4 separate regions of the Homo sapiens genome follow, and all the other regions are linked to region 3. Evidence: promoter capture Hi-C in 16 types of primary human blood cells and fetal thymus (Javierre and others, 2016). All regions are on one chromosome and are shown on one strand. The core of a region is centred on a gene start or on the middle of the fragment in contact, and the rest is flanking DNA. Distances in the headings are between cores, read along the strand shown. Region 1 overlaps ZNF18 (zinc finger protein 18). Region 2 overlaps MAP2K4 (mitogen-activated protein kinase kinase 4). Region 3 holds the start of SCO1 (synthesis of cytochrome C oxidase 1). Region 4 has its middle 11 kb from the start of MAP2K4.

Evidence for each region. Contacts are between HindIII fragments. The CHiCAGO score rates a contact against its expected background, and 5 or more counts as called.
Region 1: a fragment that was not itself captured here is called in contact with the fragment with the promoter of SCO1 in region 3 in 1 of 17 cell types (naive CD8 T cells); the score reaches 6.1 in naive CD8 T cells.
Region 2: a fragment that was not itself captured here is called in contact with the fragment with the promoter of SCO1 in region 3 in 1 of 17 cell types (megakaryocytes); the score reaches 6.1 in megakaryocytes.
Region 4: a contact is called between a fragment that was not itself captured here and the fragment with the promoter of SCO1 in region 3, in 1 of 17 cell types (activated CD4 T cells). The highest score is 5.3, in activated CD4 T cells.

The regions. Positions count from the first base shown.
Region 1 is chr17:11,990,629-11,995,916 of GRCh38, reverse strand. ZNF18 (zinc finger protein 18) reads left to right here. Exons shown (of 7, transcript NM_001303281.2): 2 at 3,006-3,474; 3 at 4,754-4,943. The coding sequence starts at 3,088. Among named protein-coding and RNA genes, the nearest start is that of ZNF18, 4.2 kb to the left of the region's middle. RefSeq lists an enhancer at 3,972-4,626. The HindIII fragment of the contact is 546 bases long and covers 3,443-3,988 here.
Region 2 is chr17:12,050,871-12,056,168 of GRCh38, reverse strand. It overlaps MAP2K4 (mitogen-activated protein kinase kinase 4), which reads right to left. Exons shown (of 11, transcript NM_003010.4): 2 at 1,178-1,280. Among named protein-coding and RNA genes, the nearest start is that of MIR744, 28 kb to the left of the region's middle. The HindIII fragment of the contact is 964 bases long and covers 2,830-3,793 here.
Region 3 is chr17:10,694,865-10,700,411 of GRCh38, reverse strand. SCO1 (synthesis of cytochrome C oxidase 1) reads left to right here and starts at 2,879. Exons shown (of 6, transcript NM_004589.4): 1 at 2,879-3,177; 2 at 4,581-4,671. The coding sequence starts at 2,905. It overlaps ADPRM (ADP-ribose/CDP-alcohol diphosphatase, manganese dependent), which reads right to left and starts at 2,818. Exons shown (of 4, transcript NM_020233.5): 1 at 2,745-2,818. RefSeq lists a silencer at 2,451-2,780 and enhancers at 2,901-2,950, 2,666-2,960, 2,254-3,078, 3,079-3,902. The HindIII fragment of the contact is 16,251 bases long and covers 1-5,159 here.
Region 4 is chr17:12,006,963-12,013,107 of GRCh38, reverse strand. It overlaps a transcript of ZNF18 not described here and the pseudogene RPL21P122. Among named protein-coding and RNA genes, the nearest start is that of MAP2K4, 11 kb to the left of the region's middle. The HindIII fragment of the contact is 1,877 bases long and covers 3,062-4,938 here.

The DNA.
Region 1 (5,288 bases), core at 2,466-4,965, 1.3 Mb before region 3:
GCTTTAATGGCTTTTTAGCAATACCACTTTGCGTAATATTTTTAGAGCTAATTTTAAGATATCAGTCATTTGAAAATTATGCATATGGTCTGTTTTGATGAATACTCTTTGCACTTGTAATGAATGTATACTCTGCAGTTCTTGGGTCTAGTGTTCTGAAAATGTCAATTAGAGCAAGTCGGTTGATAGTGTTCAGATTTTTTGACTTCACTGACTCTTTTTTTTTTTTTTTTTGAGATGGAGTCTCCCTCTGTCGCCCAGGCTGGAGTGCAGTGGTACGATCTTGACTCACTGCAACTTCCGCCTCCCAGGTTCAGGCTGTTCTCCTACCTCAGCCTCCTGAGTTGCTGGGATTACAGGTGCGCACCACCATGCCCAGCTAATTTTTGTATTTTTAGTAGAGATGGGGTTTTACTGCGTTGGCCAGGCTGGTCTCAAACTCTTGACCACAGGTGGTCCTCCCGCCTAGGGCTTCCAAAGTGCTGGGATTGCAGGCGTGACCCACCGCGCCTGGCCTGGGTTTCTTTTTTTTTTTCTTGCAGTGGTGTGATCTCGGCTCACTGCAACCTCTGCCCCCTTGGGTTCAAGCAATTCTCCTGCCTCACTCAGCCTCCCTGGTAGCTGGGATTACAGGCATTCACCACCACGCCCGGTTAATTTTTGTATTTTTAGTAGAGATGGGGTTTTGCCATGTTGGACAGGCTGGTCTTGAACTCCTGACCTCAAATGATCCCCCTGCCTTGGACGCCCAGAATGCTAGGATTACAGGCGTGAGCCACTGCGCTCAGACCTGGGTTTCTTTTTAAGCAAAAAATAAATTTAATGAGGACCACATAAAAAACATTTGGTATTGGATTACGGTTGCAAGGGTCCATTTATACAAGGATTTTCATCTGCCTCTGTGACTCCTGCGACTGCAAGACCAACCCTTCCTTCTCCTTCTCCTGTTCCTTGTCCTCTTCAGGCTACTCAGTGTGAAGATGATGAAGGTGACCACCTTTATGGTGATTCACTTCCACTTAGTGAATAGTAAATGTAGTTTCTCTTCCTTATAATTTTCTTTTTCTTTTTTTTTTGAGACGGAGTCTCGCTCTGTCGCCCAGGTTGGAGTGCAGTGGCACGATCTCAGCTCACTGCAAGCTCTGCCTCCCAGGTTCATGCCATTCTCCTGCCTCAGCCTCCCGAGTAGCTGGGATCACAGGCGCCCGCCACCACGCCTGGCTAATTTTTTGTATTTTTAGTAGAGAAGGGGTTTCACCGTGTTAGCCAGGATGGTCTCGATCTCCTGACCTTGTGATCCAGCCACCTCAGCCTCCCAAAGTGCTGGGATTACAGGCGTGAGCCACCTGGCCTGGCCTCTTCCTTATAATTTTCTTAATAATATTTTGTCTAACTTACTTTATCACAAAAATACAGTAACATGCAAAATGTATGTTAATCAACTATTTAAGGCATCAGTCAATAGACTGCTAAGCTTTTGGGGAATCAGAAGTTATATATGGATTTTCTACTGTGTGGGGGGTTGGCGCCCCTATCTCCTGCATTATTCAATGGTCAACTGTAATTCTTTTGACTTCGCTTTTTCCTTTCTCAGGCCCTTGAAAAAAAATTGTTTTTCTTTTTTAGTTTTTAAATGATTTTCCAATGTCGGATAAATTATTTTGGTGAAACGGTAAGGATGAAGACATTGTTTCCTACACCTTAAGAAATAAGCAGCTACAAAAAGCTAGAGTATTGTACTGATCTCTGATTAAGCCAGATCCTCAAGTGATGGGGTATCTTTTTTTAAAAATTGCTGTGATTAGTCTTAGGGAGAAATGATGACCACCAAATTCTTCATAACATTTAAGGATTTACCCAGTAATCCTATATTGTGATTACTTGCAAGAAAGTTAACTAGAAGTAGTGGATGATCCTTTTTAGAATAATATTATTTGCGATTTAATATTTCTCTTTCTACTGTCTTAGTTGTGATCTTCTAAAATTTGATACCATTCACATAAAATAGTGATTATTTATATCAACACCATAGGAGTATTTTCAAGGTAGTTAGTCTTCTCAACCCTCTTTTTTTTTTTTTTTTTTTTTTTTGTGAGACGGAGTCTCTCTCTGTCCCCCAGGCTGGAGTGCAGTGGCGCGATCTTGGCTCACTGCAAGCTCCACCTCCTGGGTTCACCCCATTCTTCTGCCTCAGCCTCCTGAGTAGCTGGGACTACAGGTGCCCGCCACCATGCCCGGCTAATTTTTTGTATTTTTTTTTAGTAGAGACGGGGTTTCACCGTGTTAACCAGGATGGTTTCGATCTCCTGACCACGTGATCCACCTGCCTCGGCCTCCCAAAGTGCTGGGATTACAGGCGTGAGCCACCATGCCCAGCCTTCTCACCCTCTTTAACCCCAAGGTTGAAAGTGTCAGGTATGATACTTGTTTTTTTCATAAATTCTCAAATAGACCTATTTTAATATGGCACTCAAAAGACCTCTCTTGGAAGTTTCATTACACCTTTTTGGTATACTTTTGGAAGTACTTTTGGTACCTTTTGGAAGACTTAACTTGTTCTCTTTAACCTCCTATTTATTACAGAAGCATGTAGGCATTAGCTTTTATTCCTAGGGCATTAATATCTTTTTCCAGCTTTATTTTTTAGTATGCAGATATATAGATGAAGATGTAGAAGTGTTTTGTAGAAGAGCCGTTTACCTGGAAACCTATAGTGAAAAAGTTTCGTATGGTGCATTTTATTCTTCATTTTGTCTGGACATTTGAAGACCAAGAAAGAACATTATAAAATGGGCAGGGAAATGGTGGCTGTTTAGATACAGTATCAGTAGTTTGCTTTGTGGCTTCAAGTTTATAATCTTTCAAAATAGAATCGTGTATCCATTGAGCAATTTCAAAAGCTCCATAGTTGACCCCATGGCTTCTCGGGTAGGGCATGTGAATTTGTTCTTTCTGAAAATGTGTCCCCTTCCTCTGTGTAGCACTCAATCTCATTCCCTTTTTAGTGTCCTGGTGAAGACCTAGTTCTTGCCGGAGACAATTCCACTGCAGAAGCACTTTACTTAAAAGGACTTGCCAGGCTGGACAATGCCCGTTGACTTGGGGCAGGCCCTAGGCCTGCTGCCATCGCTGGCGAAGGCCGAGGACTCCCAGTTCTCAGAATCAGATGCTGCCCTTCAAGAGGAACTCTCCAGCCCTGAGACCGCACGCCAGCTTTTCAGGCAGTTCCGTTACCAGGTGATGTCTGGGCCTCATGAGACCTTGAAGCAACTTCGGAAGCTCTGTTTCCAGTGGCTACAGCCAGAGGTTCACACCAAAGAGCAGATCCTAGAGATCCTCATGTTGGAGCAGTTTCTGACCATCCTGCCTGGGGAGATCCAGATGTGGGTGCGGAAACAGTGTCCAGGAAGTGGAGAAGAGGCAGTGACCCTTGTGGAAAGCTTGAAGGGGGACCCCCAGAGACTGTGGCAATGGGTAAGCAGAGGGTATTATGATCTGCGAGTGAAACACAGGGCTCCTCTCTGGTCCCATCAGGTGTGTTGTCTTTTTTCTGATACCACTTATGACACAAAATGGGTGGGGCTTTTCACACCAATGGCCAATTCTGTGATTCTCTAACACCAGTACAGTGTCCAGCAATTCAGTTCTGAAGCTAACTCTGGAGGTTCAGGGCTCAATCCAAGACTGCTCCTGTTCTCAGATGCCAGTCACAAGTCCCAGGGGCCACCTGTACTTCTGACAAATTGGCTATAAATTCGGAGGTTCCCACAGTCTTCTCTTCAAGTTTGATAATTAGTTAGAATGACTTACAGAACTCAGGGAAGGATTTTACTTCCTGTTACTGACTTACTCTAAAGGATACAACTCATTAACAGCCAGAGAGAAGAGCTGCATAGAGCAAGGTGTGGGGGAAAGAGCGTGGAGCTTCCATGCTTCTCCTGGCGTGCTACGTTACCAGTACCTCCATGAGGTCACCAACCTGGAAGCTTCCTGAACCTCATGGTTTAGGGATTTTTATGGAGGCTTCACTGCTTTGGCACACTTGATACAGTCATTTGCCGTTGGTGATTGAGTATCTCCAGCTGCCCTCCCCTCCTCAGAAGCTGGGTGGAGATACTGAAAGTTCCAACCTTTTAATCTCAAGGTTGGTTCCTCTGGCAACCAGCCCCCATCCTGAAGCTATCTAGGAGCCTAGCATAAACTCAGGTGTGGTTGAGAAGGGCTCCTTATGAATAACAAAGACTCTTCTTTCACCTGTCCCTCAAGAAATTACCAGGGTTTTAGGAGCTCTGCGGGAATGGGAACTGGGGACAAAGACTAAATGTGTATTTCTTATTATACCACAGCTGGGTTCCCCCATACCTCACGTAATTCTAACACTCTCTGACTCTCAACACTCTTTAGCTATTGAGGATTGAGGGTAAAGTCTCCCAGCGCATTCCACCTTTAGACTAGAATGTTTGAGAAGTTATTTAAAAGATGCCTGAGTTTTCATTGGTGGCGCATATCCAGTAGAAGCACGTTAGTGGCATGTCTTGAAGGTCTCCCACGCCTGATTCGGGCCTCAGCTTTTGGTGTCTTTTGGGACGTTTCTTTCCCTGGTTCCTGCTGGACTAGAAATAAAAGCTGGTTTTCTCTTTCTCCACATCCTTAGAAATTGTCTTATGATCTGTTGTAGAGAGTAAGCTTTGTGTCTTTTAGAGATCCTTACTCTGGATTCTTCAGTAATTACTAATTAATATATGGTCTCTAGATCAGTATCCAGGTTCTAGGACAGGACATCTTATCAGAGAAGATGGAATCTCCAAGCTGCCAAGTGGGGGAAGTGGAGCCCCATCTTGAAGTGGTGCCTCAGGAGTTGGGACTTGAGAATTCATCCTCAGGGCCTGGGGAGCTTCTGAGCCACATCGTGAAAGAGGAATCTGACACAGAAGCAGAACTAGGTGAGGATGGTGCTGTGTGGTGTTCTCTTGGAGAGATTTTGGGATTGTGATTAGTAGGCCTAAGTGAGTTGAAATGGTATGCTGCTCAGATTGGCGTATCCCTGAGAGGTTTGCAAACAGGTTAGACCTAAATAAACCGCTCTTGTTTGGAGAGTCAAAGTCTGTGTTTTAAACTGCTTTATGACTGGGCCAGACCATTTGGATTTTGGCTCTGAGGAAGGAGGTGGGAGAACATATGGGTGAGACTGGAATGTTGGAGGGGGTTGGAGTGTGTCAGGGAGATAAACACAAGTCTTGAAATATAGATGGCAGTACAGGTATTGTTCAGGTATTGTTCTGATTTGT
Region 2 (5,298 bases), core at 2,062-4,561, 1.4 Mb before region 3:
AGGTAACAGAAGGGGGCTATGTTAAAGAATTAGTTTTGCACTAGCTTTCACTACAAATTCTAAGAAATAAGGAAGGAGGTTCTTTTAAGAATTGTTTCCTTGCTGCTGAAATTCTGACTAATTAATAAGTACTAAGTTTCCTTCCTCAAGATAGCCCCTACTTGATGTTTCAGAGAAGGTAAAAAGAGTGGGACTCTAGGCTGAGCTCTGACAAGAAGTGTGATTATGAACACCAGTCTAATAAAATTAATAGACAATTGAGAAAAATAAATTGTTACTACACTTTTTATTTAAAATATCTTTCATTCCCTCTAAGGCTACAAGTGAAACTACTCCCTTCTAGACATTGCTGTTTTAAAAATATTTTAAGCATCTCTTTTGCAAGACACTACCTTCTACCAATTTGTTACTGTTTGTAAATACAATGCATACCAAATTCTGAAAGAAGAGAAAATAGCAATAAAAGTGCCTCTTTGGGAAGAATAAATGTATTTTAAGCCTAATAAGATCTAGATGCAAATTGTTGAGAAATTACTTAAAAAAAAATGTATCTGCCAGCTTTTTAATCATACCTTACACCACTTGCTTTATAGTTCTCAACATCGAAACTAGCTCAAAATTATTTTTATGGACATGGTTATAAAAGTACAGCCACTGGCCTTCATTTTCATGATAGGTTAGGATGGGAAATAAGAAGAGGTTTTTTAATATTTCACATCACTTAAATTCAATTGAAGGTTAATGTAAAATATTGTTCTGAAGGTATTGCTTTATGTTAACTAAGATGCTCTAATATTTTCACTAAGATGCTACAATATCATTTCTATTGTTTAAAAATTCAGTAAATGAAATAACCACTGATATGTGTACACTCACATGTACACAACTCTTTCAATTTACTATGACATAGAAATCTTGCAGGAATCTAGCTTATTAAGATGGGACTCTATTTTGTCACTAAGTGGTGAAAATTTGTACAGTTGGACAGAAGACAGTCAAATTTCCTAAATGCAACTTGCAATTTAACTGGAACTCCAGAAGGAAAAGAATAAACAATATTCCCAGAGAGTTTAGTCAGAGAAATTATACTGACATCTCATAATTGGAAAAATTCATAAAATACAGTAACTTTAAAATCTTTGCTTGAGTTGAGCCTTTGATTACCAAGAATACTCACATGTGTGGGTTTTGAACTCCTGTAGGATTGGGATTCAGAGTAAACCTTGCTGTAGATTTGAAAGGTGGATTTGCAAAATTCAACTTCAGTGCTTTGCGTTTACCTGAGAAATAACAAATAAAAAGTAAAAGTTTCAAGTACTACAAAACAGGTACTATTCTGAGGGCATAAGAAAGTCACACCAAAAGGCAAGAGAACTTGCTTTAACAAACAGTTAATATAGGACAATATTTTGAAAGGCAATGAGGAATTTCTTAAACTAAGAAAAAATAAAATAATCTAAAGTTGTTACTAACTACAAATCATTCACTAGGCTATGATACAATAGATAGAATGCTATCACTTCAAGTTTCCATTATTCAGGGAAGTTAATACTTTTGCAAGTGAAAATACTATTATAAAAATCAATTATCTCAGTAGATATACTGAAAAATTCTAAAAATATTACCATCTGTTCAGTGTTATACTTAATGCCCTCAGTTTAATAAATATCGTTTTCCCTCATTTTAATGAATATAAACAACAGAGTGAAGAATCTGAAAAATTTGCTAAAAACATTACGGTAGAGTAAACTTCAAGTTAGTAATACAAGTATTCTAAATAATTATTTCCATGAAGCTGTTTCTTTAGGGTAGGAAGGGAAGAGATACCAATGTTTTTTATTACCCAAGTAAAACCACCATGGTAGAAGGGCAGAAAATGCAAAAAAAGATCAAATATATTAAAAATGTTACATATACACCTATACAATACATAGGGTTAAAATTTTACATAAACTTATCAATCCAAGTATCTCAAAATAATCAGTTTACTAACTACTGCAGACTTTTTTCTATACATAGATAGGGACATGTATTTTTTCACTACAATTGAAATCAGACCATGAAAATGCTTTGTAAAATGCTTTATTCACTAACATTTCTTTCTATATCAATAAGTCTTACAGAATCATTTCTTTAGGACTTAAAAGGATACCTTGTAACAGAACTGAATTTTTTAAGCATTTGCAGCATATCTTGGTTTCACATTCACCTTAGAGACACTTTTTCCTGAACTCACTCTCTAGAGTTTATTATACAATTAACTACTCAAAAAATATCTCTGCAATCCAAACACTTTCTGACCTCAGTGGATGAGGATTTAATAGAGGGTTCAAACTGTAAATGTGAGATCTGAAAATCTGACGGAGCCACACTGGATGGAGAAGATGGCAAAGAGACAAGAGCACAGAGCTCCTTGCCACGGCCCCTAGATCTGCTTTCAAAGATAAGCCTCCTTTCTACCAGATCATGTGAATTCCCACGAAGACCAAACACATCCATTTTCAGAAATAAGGTTAGTACAGTATGACTTTTCCACATAATGTAGAGGAAGGACATTCAAACAACATGTGCAAAGGGTACACTAGGAAACATAGCAGATATGACTGTATTTAAAAAAAAAACAAAAACCCTCAGTATATTACCAAAAAACAAAACTAAAAAAAAATTGAACCTTGGGAAAACTCTTGCAATACAAAAATCAGTAGCTCTAAATATATAAAGACATCATAGAAATCAAGAAAAATAGAAAAAAAGTGATAAGAATATGAGCAGTAAAGACAAATCAAGGGAAAATATAAAAAGACACTAACACCAAAAACATTTTAAGCTTTTGTTCATATGAAAATGGCAAAGTTTGAAGGTTTTATATTATATATACATAATGATAACATGATGATCAGAATGGCTAGGTAGAAGAATCACTAATAAGATATATTGCTGGTAGAAAAACTTTCTGTGAGAGGTTCAGCAATATACAAAAAAAAAGGTTTTTTTAGTAAATATGCTCTTTTACTTCTTGAGAATTTTTCTTTAGAAAATATTTAAAGATAGAGGATTACTCCCGGGTCTTGAAACCAAATGGAATTTGCCCTGGATAATACTCAGAGTTTTACCCATGCCTGATTTAAATGATTTTCATAATGGGATTTGGGATTTTTGAGCTGGTAATATTTAGGTGAGATTTACATTTGAGTTAATACTGTAATGAGTCAAAATTTTGGAGACGCTGGGGTAGGGTAAATGTATTTTGCACATGGGAAGGATATGAATATTTGGGGCCCAGAAAACAGACTGTAATGGGCTGAATGGTGGTCCCCAAAGATACTAAGCTCCTAATCTCTGGAACTTGAACCTATTAATTACCTTAATATGGCAAATCGTTTACAGAAAAAATTAAGTTAAGGAACTTTGCTATCACAATTTGAAGAAAATCTTTACAAACTCCTCAAATCAAAAACTGAGCATATGTCATGTAGTCTGTGTTTGAAACCATCTGGCACATCATCCATTACCTCCGTGTGAAGAAAAATTAATATAAGACTAAGATAAAATGCAAGACAAGGACAGAACAAAGAACTATTGTGAAAACTATCCAAAGAAAAACAAAAATTGGTCCTTTCTTAGAAAGCCCAATTTGACGGAATAGTAGCTAACCTTACCAGATAAACAATAAAATATATTACAACAGTTAAAACTTAAACTGTTTTCTTGAATATAAGTATTTATACTGAATACACAGAGAGATTTTTTTCAGCATTGCATTCACATTTAAATAAAAACTAAATTGAAAGCTTTAAAGGCCATTAACTTCATAAACGTACACCATGATGAAGAGAATGTGATTTAAGTTACATAAATTAGATTTAAACACAGTCTACACTTCAGAGACATCTGCAATTATCTTGAAAAAGTCCAAATTTATATTCTGATCATTTACTAACAAAACACACTAAGTAATTCTGTAGGTTTCGAAGCCTTTCCAAGCAAAGATCACTCAAAGCCTAAAACAAGTGCCAACGAGCTTAGCACATGATCAAGTTACCTTGCTGGGTCTCATCTGTGTACCCCAACTCTTCAAATGCTGATCAGTTTAAGATGAACTTGAAAGGCAGTTTTGAGGAGGAAAAGGAAGGCCCCAAAATGTCAACCGAAGGTGAGATTCAAGAAAAGTAGAAAAATAGCTTTTACAATACTCAGGAGAAGCTGTTTCTGGCTACCTGGAGGCATGAGCTTTTTTTTTTTTAAAAAAAGGCATCTTCTCCTCTCCCATTCACTTTCTCTAAGTACTAGAGCCTCTACTGGGGCTGGGTCCTTCTCTCCTTTACTTCTTTTTCAAGGGTCCCTCAAAAAAATCAAAACCGAAAGGCAATCTGTCACCATGTATTCAGATATTTTTAATGACAAAAAATTACAAGCAAATAGGACATTAATATGAATTTTTTTCAAAAACTTGAAACAACTTTCACAGGGAGAAAGGAGGGACGTGATACTATAAATGACCTGTGAAGATTTTTAGATGCTAACAAAGATTGAAATATTTGTACAACAGGGTTTAAAATAACTGATCAAAAACATTATGAATTTGTGATTATAATAACCCCTTTGGTGGGACTGTCATATCATCAATTTCTAACCAGTCAACACAGATAAACATTGTCCCTTTAACTATAGCAGGAGAGAAACGAGGCATCAAACATCCTAAAATATTTATACAGAAGCGGTTTCCTGCGAGAGATTCTCTGTATACCTAAAACCTTAGCTCTGTGCCTGATACAGAAAACACTTCCAAATGTTTATTGATTTGGGAATAAAGTTGACATGGACAGCCTCAGACAACTTAAGCCTATATGGTTATTGGCTGGAGTAAATCTTTGTTGTTTGCAACCAAGAACCCTGACTTAGGAACAGTACCTGTCCTCATCACACTTCCAAAGCACTGTTCCACCCCTCAAAGCAATACTGCCTACTTTTTTCATGCAATGGCTTGTTTAAAAGATGAGAATATTTGTTCAACATGCTGGGAAAATTAGAATTGCAGCTGGCCCAGAGGCTGGCCTAGGCATTGAGCAGTCCTGTCCCCACTCAGCCACTCCAAGGCTGAGGGCAACAATCTGTCAGAATCATCCTTGAAATTCTGGTTTCAAAACTCTGCCTTAAGAGAACAGCCAGCACCTTTCAAACAAGCTTTTCACAGCATCGGCACACAGTGTCTTCCTCAAATTTCTCATGAGAAAAGCACTCCCAAACATGGAATCATCAAGAATATTAAGAACTGTAATCCTGAAGAAAGGGATTGGT
Region 3 (5,547 bases), core at 1,630-4,129:
GTGATCCACCTGCCTCAGGCCTCCCATACCCAAGGATGCTTAATTACTGAAAAGTTGCTATAAGATCATACTAATAAAACTTTTCCAATACTTAAGATTGGCAGAAGGCTGAAGTTCCTTGTGGAAAGCCTTCAAGCATCAATAATGAACTTGTAAAAGAAGTAGCTCTACCCTGAAAAGAGTATGATTTCTTCACTCTATTGTCAAAGGTGAAGGGGGCAGCAGGGAAAGTCTAGAGATTAATAAAGAGAGACTTTGTTAGGAGAAACTATTGTAACAGAGGCTCCTAGCCTAAGGGTGCAGCATATGTTTTCTACGCAGATACCATACCAAAAGGAAAGTTAAGTTGGGGCAGGAAATGTTTGTGGTTAGGAGTTAGGCACAAGGGGCAGGGGCCTGGAACAAAAATGAAGTAAACACATTAGGGTGCTGGGAAGTTCACAAAAGTTAGGGCCTAGCTGTCCCCAGTCAAACCAGCCTAAAGTTATGTCAAGAACAAAATCTGATCACTATTGATAGAACCAATATCAGATGATACTAATCCATGCCCTGCTTCTCTCAAGAAAAATATCTAAATTGGGGCCGGGTGTGGTGGCGCAAGCCTGTAATCCTAGCACTTTGGGAGGCCGAGGCGGGCAGATCACGATGTCAGGAAATCGAGACCGTCCTAGCTAACATGGTGAAACACTGTCTCTACTAAAAATATATATATTTTTTAAATTAGACAGGCCTGGTGGCACGCACCTCTAGTCCCAGCTACACGGGAGGATGAGGCAAGAGAATCGCTTGAACCCAGGAGGCGGAGGTTGCAGTGAGCTGAGATCGCACCACTGCACACTCCAGCTTGGGCGACAGAGGGAGACTTTGTCTCAAAAAAAAAAAAAAAAAAAAAAGAAAGAAAAGAAAAATATCTAACTTGGAAAACAAAACATAAACCTCATTTGGTGACTTTGGTGGTTTCACAGCAGTAATAAAAGTGATAAGGTCTATAAGGGATAACACTGTAGGCGCCTTCTGGCACTAAAGTTTCATGGGTCCTTGCCATCAGGCTCAGGTGTTACTAGCAATTCATCCAAAATGCAGTTATAAAACACCTACTTTGAGCCAGGAACTATATTTTATATTTATTTTATTTATTTTTTAGAGGCAGAGTCTTGCTTTGTTGCCCAGACTGGAAGGCAGTGGCCCGATCACAGCTCACTGCAGCTTCAAACTCCTAGGCTCCAGTGACCCACTCACCTCAGCCTCCCAAAGTGATGGGATTACAGGCGTGAGCCACCACATCTGGCCCCAAGAACTGTTTTCAATGATAGCATTTTATTTAATATTATAAAATTAATATGAAGAAGTTGCTACTAAAAGAAGCACTTTAGCAAATAAAATTTAATAGATCAGGTAGAAACACTGACTTCAATCTTAATTTGGGTGGCTGATCAGGTAACCTACAATTGGGCAATCAGAGATGAACAATAATTTTGTATGCTATCTGCCTGACTACACAAGGTACTTTTATGTCTTTTTGTCAATTACAAGAAAAAATTATCCCTGGGCAAACAAATACACAAAGATAAAAGAGCAAAAATCCTACCCACAGGCAACTATAAGATAGAAAAAAATAGTTTGATTAACGACTTGAAGTGCTGAACAAACATTTAAGAACTTTGGCAGAAATTTCTGAAAATTCTAGTCCAACCGCGAATCAAGAAACACAGGTAACACTATGTTCCGTTACTGGGTTAGAGAACAGAACAGTTGGCTAGTTTGGCTAACTCATAGAAAACAAGCAAACCAACCATGCTCTGGTCCAACAATCATCAGAGCACGAGTTTCTCCTACTCAGAGTCGGTCCCATGGGGGAAAAAAAAGCCACACAGGAGCGGGATCTGTAGTTAAGGAAGATAATTAGAGGACGATTTTCCTTTTTTTATTTCTCTGTATTTTGTAAAGCAACCACCGAGGTAGGGGCGGGGAGGGAGTGGTTAATATTGCGGATATTAAGATATAAATAAAGGCAGATGAAATGAAGTTAGACTTTCACAAAGAACGAAAAACCTACGAATGCTCTTGGCCTCATTAACAAGGAACATAAGCAGTTCCAGATGAGGAACCCATAACAAACTTCAAATAACGAAACTGTAGGGAGCAAGGGAGTCCGTGAGAGTATTTTAAGAAACTGGGACCCAGGAAGACTAAGTTAACGGATGGGATATCATGCTGTCTATATTTCTTTACACACTGCTATGCTTTATTAATTAGGTTACATTATAATGTTAAATAACTAGAAGCGCTGGGCATTTAAAGTTCTTCCAGACCGCCCTAACCACTCAAATTATCCTAATTAGCAATTTTTTTTAAGTTAAAGACTATTTCAATCGCAATGGGTCGGTTTCTATTTCAAAGATGTAAAGGAGTCAACATTCTGGCACTTCCTCTTGGCCGGCAGGACGAGGTTGACAAAGTCGGCCAGACAAGGTAGGGTTATGGGGGCTGCCCAGTCCCGTGGGTCTCTAGGCAGTGTGTTCTCTCTTCCGAGGTGGGGGTGTCCCCGGCGCGAGGAGCTAGCTGTGGTCACCGAAGCCCACGACCAAAGCGGGGGCCCCCAGCGCTTGGGGCCGCCTTGCCTCGGCCCAGCCGCGCACCTGGACCCCTAAGGCAGCCCCCTTCCCGGCGCTCCGCTGTCCCGCGGCCCCGCAGCACCGCCCAGCCCGCGCCAGACCCGCCTCCAGCCGCAGGGAACTACCTACCGTGCGCCGGCCCCTGGGCTGAAAGGCCTCTGACTACGGGCTATGTAACAGCGCCACCAACGAGCGGGACGGACAGAGCGACTCCTTCCGACTTCCGGAGGAAGCGGAACGCTACCGGAAATCGCGGGGAGGGTCAAAGGAGACCCGGTCTCCGAGGCTCATGGCGATGCTGGTCCTAGTACCCGGACGAGTTATGCGGCCTCTGGGTGGCCAACTTTGGCGCTTCTTGCCTCGCGGACTCGAGTTTTGGGGCCCAGCCGAGGGGACTGCGAGAGTCTTGCTGAGGCAGTTCTGCGCGCGGCAAGCGGAGGCGTGGCGTGCCTCGGGGCGCCCTGGCTATTGCCTGGGAACCCGGCCCCTCAGCACTGCGAGGCCGCCACCCCCGTGGTCGCAGAAGGGCCCCGGAGACTCCACGCGCCCCTCGAAGCCCGGGGTGAGTGCACACCTGGAACCCTTCTGGTGCTCGTCGCGGCTGTCGGCCAGCCCAGCGGCCACATCCCACTTGGTCGTAACCTCAGACACTACTCCGCCTCCCCTAAAGTTGTCCTTAGCTTGCGCGCCTTACCTGGGTCATGGAATTTCATCCTACATTTCCCGTGCCTTGCGGGTAGTCCCAGTTCTCCACAGAGAACTTGAGACTTTACACCCTCTCCACGTGGCTGGATGCCCCGACTTGGATTTTATGTTAGCGTTTCCATCAAAAAAAAAAAAAAAATTAAGTTTCAGGTTTTCTTAAGGGTATGAACCTAAAGTTTACCGTGATTGAGAAGTCAGAGGACTTTTATAATTTGTCACTTGAGCCCCATCCAGAGTTCCATGTATACGTTGAAATTGAAACAAAAAGTGGAACTTAGTTATGTGTGGATCTGCCTTTTTCTTGGGGTTCTCTCGAGTTCTAATTCTGACCCAGAAATAACTTGAGAGCCACTACCCTGTGGTAAGAGAAGTGGGTTTTTGGAGCTACGGGAAGGTTAATGAGTTAGGCCTAGTCTAGTTGGCCAACATCATCTTCATTTGGGGAGTTGAATAAGGGTACAAAGAAATAATGGGTGTAATTTGCAAGAAGCTCCACTTTTAGATTCCTCTTCTACTTTGGCATTGTTACTTCTGGAAGCCAGAGTTAAGTTAACCTCCCAAATTTCGTTTGGTCTATTTATCTCAGTATCAGCATAAGCAGATAATTGTTTTTTGTGTGTGTGTTTTTGGATTTTGGTTTTTGTTTTGAGACGGAGTTTTGCTCTTTTGCCCAGGCTGGAGTGCAGTGGCCCTATCTCGGCCCACTGCAACGTCCGCCTCCCGGGTTCAAGCGATTCTCCTGCCTCAGCCTCCCGTGTAGCTGGGTTTAGAGGGGTCCGCTACCACGCCCGGCTAATTTTTGTATTTTCAGTGGAGATGGGGTTTCACCATGTTGGCCATGCTGGTCTCAAACTCCCGACCTCAGGTGATCCACCCGCCTCCGCCTCCCAAAGTGCTGGGATTACAGGCGTGACCCACCGCGCCCGGCCATAATTGGTTTTAAAGTCATTACTGGAGCTAGGGTCACACATAGTAACAATCGTGGTACTTGAGCTTTTTTTTTTTTTTTTTTTTTTTTTTATTTACATGAAGAGAACTGACTTAGGGAACTTTCCCCTGGAGATGAATGCCTTTGTAGTTCAGATCCCAGACCTAACTGCATCCACAGAAACTTTGAGCATTTTCTCATCCCTGAAACATTTTGCACATTTAACATCATGGCCTGTGTGTATGTATATTAAAAACTACTTTAATAAGTTTGTATGGTTAAATGTTTGCATCTTACTAGAATTTTTATGTTTGAAATCCCTGCCCCAGTAGCCTGTTTCCTGGAAGTCTTTAGCAATCACATTTGCTATTGGAGGAGCTTTACTGGCTGGAATGAAGCACGTCAAGAAAGAAAAGGCAGAGAGTAAGTAGATTATCATCTGCTCAGCCCTGTATAAAGGTCTTCCTGGCTATGGACTAGCACCTTTTTTGTTGTTTTTTAGCTTTTTGTTTTGAAACAACTTTAGATTTACCAAAAAATTGCAAAGATAGCATAGGTTCTACATACCTTTCACCCAGCTTCCCCTAATATTAACATCTTGTATAACCATGACACATTTTTCATGACTAAGAAATTTTAAATGGCACACAACTATTAAATTACAGATTGTATTTGGATTTCACTTGTTTTTCTATCAATGTCTTTTATTTGTTCCAGGATCCAAGCTAGGATACCACTGCATAACAATGTTAAAAGATATACTGTGGATAGATTTGACTGGGCAAGATGAAATCTGGAGGGTACGAAGATGAGTAAGATGTAGTCGAGCCTTTGAGGTGCACACGGAAGGGAAACAGACACAGAAGTAAAGTATTTTACTAGATGCGATTCTGCCAGGCCAGAAGGAAGCTTACCATGTTGTGAGAGCAAAAGCAAGTCCCAGCCTTGAGATTTGAGAAGGCTTCCTAGAGATCAGGCAAGGAGCATAGTGCGAGTAGATACTGCATGCCCTCTGTGGATGAGGGGGAGGTGAAAAGAGCCTGGTCAGGAAATGCCAGGAACTGCTCTGGATTAGCATCTTGAAATATTTAGAAATTATTTATAAGAACTTTGCATTTTAGTGAATATCCTAGGACTTTTAAGATTTGGTTTAGAGGTTTTAGGTAAATCTTTAAAGTATTGCTTAAATCTTTCCATTCTTTGGAGTCTCTTTTGATAACATTATATACAAAGGTTAATGATTAAATCTGGGAATTCATAGGCTTTAGGAACTTAGCAGTGTTAAGTTTTGTACTGACA
Region 4 (6,145 bases), core at 2,751-5,250, 1.3 Mb before region 3:
TGGTGGCACATGCCTGTAGTCCCAGCTACTTGGGAGGCTGAGGCAGGAGAATCACTTGAATCCAGGAGGCGGAGGTTGCAGTGAGCCGAGATCGCGCCACTGCACTCCAGCCTGGTGACAGATCAAGACTCTGTCTCAAAAAAAAAAAAAAATTCCTACAAATCAACATGAAAAAGAACAACAACCTAATAGAAAATTAGGCCAAGAAAATTAACAAGTGGATCACAGAAAAGGAATATAAATGTCTCTTTAAAAATGCGAAGATGCGGACAGGCACATTGACTCACACCTATAATCCCAACACTTTGGGAGACCAAGGCAGGAGGATCACTTGAGCCCAGGACGTCAAAGCTGCAGTGAGCTGTGATCATGCCATTGCACTCCAGTCTGGGCCACAGAGGAAGATTTGTCTAAAAAAAAAGATGTAAATTAAAACCACATTGAGATATAATTTCTCAGTTATCTAGCAGATGAAGTTTAATAACACAATATATTGATGAAAGTGTGGGCAACTGGCATTCTTCTACATAGCTGGTGGGAATGTACATTGGCACAGCTCAATGGGGGACAAGTTAATAATGGCTATCAAAATTAAAAATGTATATACCCTTTAACCCAGAAATTATACCTCTAGACGTGTATTCTTACAGATATTCTCACGTTTGCAAAATGATATATGTCCAAGGTTACTGAATATAGTATTTTTGTAGCAAAATATTAGAATCAACTTAAATGTCCTTTAACAGGCAACTGAATAAACATGGAGCGAATACTACCCAGCTGTAAGAAGAGGAAGCTCTTTGTGTAGTGATATGGGATGACTATCAATATATATTGTTATCTTTTAAAAAGCCAGATGAAGAACACCATGGTTTGCTACTATTTGTTTTAAAGAAGGAGAAATGTATATGTAATATTTAGTTACTTGTTTTAAATTTATTTGGAAAGATACTGAAAATAATGAAAATTTTGGTGTCTCAAGAGAGAAACTGGGTGATTGGTGGACAGGATTGAGAGGGACACTTTACATTATATATTCTTTGGTAGCTTATGGACTGTAAATGTCATGAACATAATAGCTAATGAAAATTAATGAATTAAGATGTAACTGCTGGGCGCAGTGGCTCACACTTGTAATCCCAGCACTTTGGGAGGCTGAGGTGGGCAGATCACGAGGTCAGGAGTTCAAGACCACCCTGGCCAATGTGGTGAAATCCCATCTCTACTAAAAATACAAAAATTAGCTGGATGTGGTGGTGCATGCCTGTAATCCCAGCTACTCAGGAGGCTGAGGCAGGAGAATCACTTGAACTTGGGAGGCAGAGGTGGAAGTGAGCCAAGATCGTGCCACTGCACTCCAGCCTGGGCGACAGAACTAGACTCCGTCTCAAAAAAAAAAAAAAAAAAAAAAATTAAGAACATTTGGCTGGGCATGGTGGCTCACACCTGTAATCCTAGCATGTTGGGAGGCTGAGGTGGGCAGATCATGAGGTCAGGAGATCGAGACCATCTTGGTCAACATGGTGAAACCCCATCTCTACTAAAAACACAAAAATTACCTGGGTGTGGTGGCGGGTGCCTGTAGCCCCAACTACTTGGGAGGCTGAGGCAAGAGAATCGCTTGAACCCGGAAGTCAGAGGTTGCAGTGAGCTGAGATCGCACCACTGCACTCCAGCCTAGGCGACAGAATGAGATTCTGTCTCAAAAAAAAATAATAATAAAAATGATGGAACTAAATCAGGATGATGGATGTCCTTTCTTTTGTTGTTAAATAAACATTCTTATGAAACAGCAAATATTTATTACCATACATTTATATTCTTTTAAAGTTTCATTCAAAATATGATTCAGGGGAACCGCCATCTTCCAGTAATTCACCAAAATGATGAACACAAAGTGAAAGAGGAGAGGCACCCGATATATGTTCTCCAGGAGTTTTAGAAAACATGGAGTTGTTCCTTTGGCCGTGCACAGGCGAATCTAGAAGAAAGGTGATATTATAGACATCAAGGGAATGAGTACTGTTCAAAAAGGAATGCCCCACAGGTGTCACCATGGCTAAACTGGAAGAGTCTACAATGTTCCCCAGCATGCTGTTGGCATTTGTTGTAAACAAACAAGTTAAGGGCAAGATTCTTGCCAAGAGAATTAATGTGTGTATTGGGCATGTTAAGCACGTGAAGAGCCAAGATAGCTTCCTGAAACAAGTGAAGGAAAATTATCAGAAAACTAAAGAAGACAAAGAGAAAAGTACCTGGGGTTCAACTGAAGTGCCAGCCTGCACTGCCCAGAAAAGCACACTTCGTGAGAACCAGTAGGAAGAAGCCTGAGGTGCTGGAACATATTCCCTATGAATTCATGGCATAGTAAGTGTTTAAAAAATAAAAGACCGGCGGGGCGCAGTGGCTCACGCCTGTAATCCCAGCACTTTGGGAGGGTGAGGTGGGTGGATCACGAGGTCAAGAGATCGAGACCATCCTGGCCAACATGCTGAAACCCCGTTTCTACTAAAAATACAAAAAAATTAGCTGGGCGTGGTGACGGGCGCCTGTAGTCCCAGCTACTTGGGAGGCTGAGGCAGGAGAATCTCTTGAACCCGGGAGACAGAGGTTGCAGTGAGCCAAGATTGCGCCACTGCACTCCAGACTGGCGAGAGAGCAAGACTCCATCTGGAAAAAAAAAAAAAAGTTCAGAAACAAATGTTTTGGAAGCAGTTTTAAAGAAAAGCAGTCTGTTCTTGTAAATACATTCTATTTTACTTACACAAAACTTTTCCTTTTTTCTCTTTAAGTCACCAGAAAATAAATGTACTGAGTTTCTATTCTTGGCTCAGATTCAACTAGAATAGCGAAGAATTACAAGATATATAAATGAAAAATCCTGTTCATTTAGTAAACATTTCATACTATATTTATACAGTGAAATTCATTGATAGTACTTTTTTTTTTTACTTATAAGTTTTTATTGGTTCTAATTAAGCCTGAGAATAAAGTCTTGTGAAACTGTCCTCTCCATTACTGTCTATTCTAATCTATTCTCGACAGGCACCACAATAAAGCTTTCACCCCTGTTTTGGTCTGTTATATCCAAGCCACATGTGCAGTCAAGGAAAAGGTGATGTTCCTGTAGTCTTTTCTAAACTACCATCTGCTAATATTACATAGATAAGCCATATTTTAGGCACTTTTTTCTACCATCTCACAAATCTGTATGTTGGAATTCTAGGAATATATGTTAATAGATCATTTGGTGTATTTTAAGTGGTTTTTCAAGAAGCAAAGTTAGGGTATTTGTTGTTTCTTTTACGTCTCACGCAGGCAGGAGCAAGGAGGGATGATTTAAAAGCTCAGGAATGGCCAGGCGCGGTGGCTCACGCCTGTAATTCCAGCACTTTGGGAGGCTGAGGCGGGTGGATCACTTAAGGTCAGGGGTTCGACACCAGCCTGGCCAACGTGGTGAAACCTTGTCTCTACCAAGAATACAAAAATTAGCCGAGCATGGTGACGGGCGCCTGTAATCCCAGCTACTTGAGAGGCTGAGGCAGGAGAATTGCTTGAATCTGGGAGGCGGAGGTTGCAATGAGCCAAGATCATGCCACTGCGCTCCAGCCTGGGTGACAGAGCAAGACTCTGTCTCGAAAAAAGAAAAAGAAAAAAAAAAAAAAAGCTCGGGAATGTATGGCACAGAGATGGGTGGAAATTGATCATGGAGGACCATAGGACCCTGTTTTCTAGAGGTCCAAATGATACAATTTGGAATAAAAGAACGTCTCTGCCTTGAACCCAAGGCTGTCCTCCTGGAACCCTGAGTGGAGCAGGCAGTTCTAGAAGCAGCCATGTAGGGATAAAAGGATGGCAAAAAAAAAAAATTGTCTACACCAACCCATGTCTCCTCGAATATATCTGTTTTCAGGTATGTGAAGGAAAGCTAAGATAATTCAGTGGATTCTTCACTGGGAAAAAGGCCAGATTCCAGTTTATAAGTGAGTATAACCCTGAAGACTTGCCTCCTTCTCCTAGACAGGGCTTGAGATTTGAGTTCCTTTCTTCCCTTCATTTCCTCCAGTGAACACTGGCTGATATCTGTATAGCCTGTGCCCGTAAGTCAGGAATTTGCCAGGGTGTCACAATTGTAAATGCTATGCTCCGAATTTTGGACCATGGTATCTAAATTTTGGTTTTTGGGATATAGTTACAGTAGACCTAGACTAAATTCTTATCTGTTGACCTTGACCAAATTCCTTCCTATTTCTCTTTTGGGAGTTCCCTGAATAATAAGGATCTTGTGGGGAACAACAGTTCCTAGTGGCCTACCATCTGGTGGAGGCCACAGACTGATTAAGTAAGTATCAAGTGAACTGTGGGATAAGGGATTTGGCAAGGGCAGTGCCCTGCCCAATCTTCAGTAGTCAGCTTCTAGGCCCTCTGACCAGCAAAGTCTTCAGACATCCCCAGCAGGCTCTACAGCTCAGACTCTGAGGGGAGCATCATTAACCTTGACTCCTCTGCCTTCTGGAGAATATTTGAGCGCAAACTTGCTCAAATACCTTCAGGGTCCAGATGGTACTGTAAGTATGTTAAAGGAACATGATCTAAAGGGATGGTCAAAGCTGGGCATGGTGGCTTGAGCCTGTAGTCCTAGCTACTTGACAGGCTGAGGCGTGAGGATCCCTTGAGCCCAAGAATTCAAGCCTAGCCTGGGCAACGTAGCTAGACCCCCATCTCTGAATAATAATAATAATAGTAGTAATAATGGGATGGTCAGACTTATGACTCACTGCAAATTGCATGCACCACTAAAAGGCATTCCAGTTCAAGTAAATTTTTAAAACTGTGCTTGCCAAAGAAAATACATGCTGCCAGTTTCCAACTTCTGGTTGGAAGGGTCCACATCAATCTCAGAGAAGAGAACTGATCTTGGATAGAACCCTGTAAGCTTAAATGAATGCATTCCTTGCTTAATTCCGGGTAACCAGCCTCTTCCAAGATGGGGTTTCTGTTTGGTGCCTTGGCTACATGCTGCTGCTTCTTCGTATCTCCACGGGCAACCCGAGGCACTCTGCAGTGGCCCTCCTCAAGACTCTACAGCAGACCACTGCTGCTGATTAACTTTATTTTCTTTCCGTTCTCTGAGCACCACCACATTATGGATTTTTTTTCAACCCTGGTGTCTGGTTAATTCCAATCATCTTCTCTCTCTGTGTTCCCCAGTGTTCAGACCCTTTGTGCTAATTAGCAGTGACAGACGTGTCACCAATCTTGCTGTTTCTCCAGGGGAAGAAAAAGCTTGCTTTTTAAAATTGATCTGTGAGACCTTCAGGAGCCACCACATGCTCCTGGAAGCTTCTGTTAGAAGGAGAAAGGTTCAGTCTGAAAAACCAAATGCAGAGAAAATCTCAACGTGGGCAGGCGTCTAGCCATCCCCAGCAGCAGGTAGCAGGGACAGATGGGGCTTCCCACTGCTCAGTGCTGATGGGATTTTCAGGAGTCCTGGCTTTCAAGGTGAGATAGATGTCACAGACCCAGCAAGGGCAAAGTCTGACTGCCCAAAGTCAGCAGGGCCATCAGTCCAGCAAGGAGTCAGGCACCTGAATGTGAAGGAGGCCACGGGCAGCATCAAGTGACCGTACAAAAATCAGAATTCAGCTAACAAGGGGTCAAAGTGAGACATTTAGGAGGACCGAAGAAGAATTCTGGGTGGTGGAAGGTTTAAAGGGACATGGGGCCTCTTCCACAATCGCTCTAAGATTGTCACCTGTGTAGAACTCCCTAAGTTTTAAAGGATCCCTGGCTAATGAGATAAAGAAGCCTAAAGACTTCAGAAGCTTCCCAAATCTGCATCTGAAGGCTGCAGCTCTTTTTCTGGCAGGAACTGAAGCTCAAAAGGGAGATCAACATAGAGTCTTCACTGGGAGATGATGTCTCAGCATTTGGTGGTGAAGCTCTGTGACTGAAGCCCTGACCTCCTTCTTGGTAGAGGAGGCCAGAATCTTGACATCTTACCAGAACAGAGATTAAGCTCAGAGGCACATGCAGGACTCTAAAAAGACAGAAACAAAACAAAACAAAATAAAATAAAACAGTAAACATTGGCCTAACACACAAAACTACATTAATGGTAGTTAGCTATCTCTATGAGGCCACA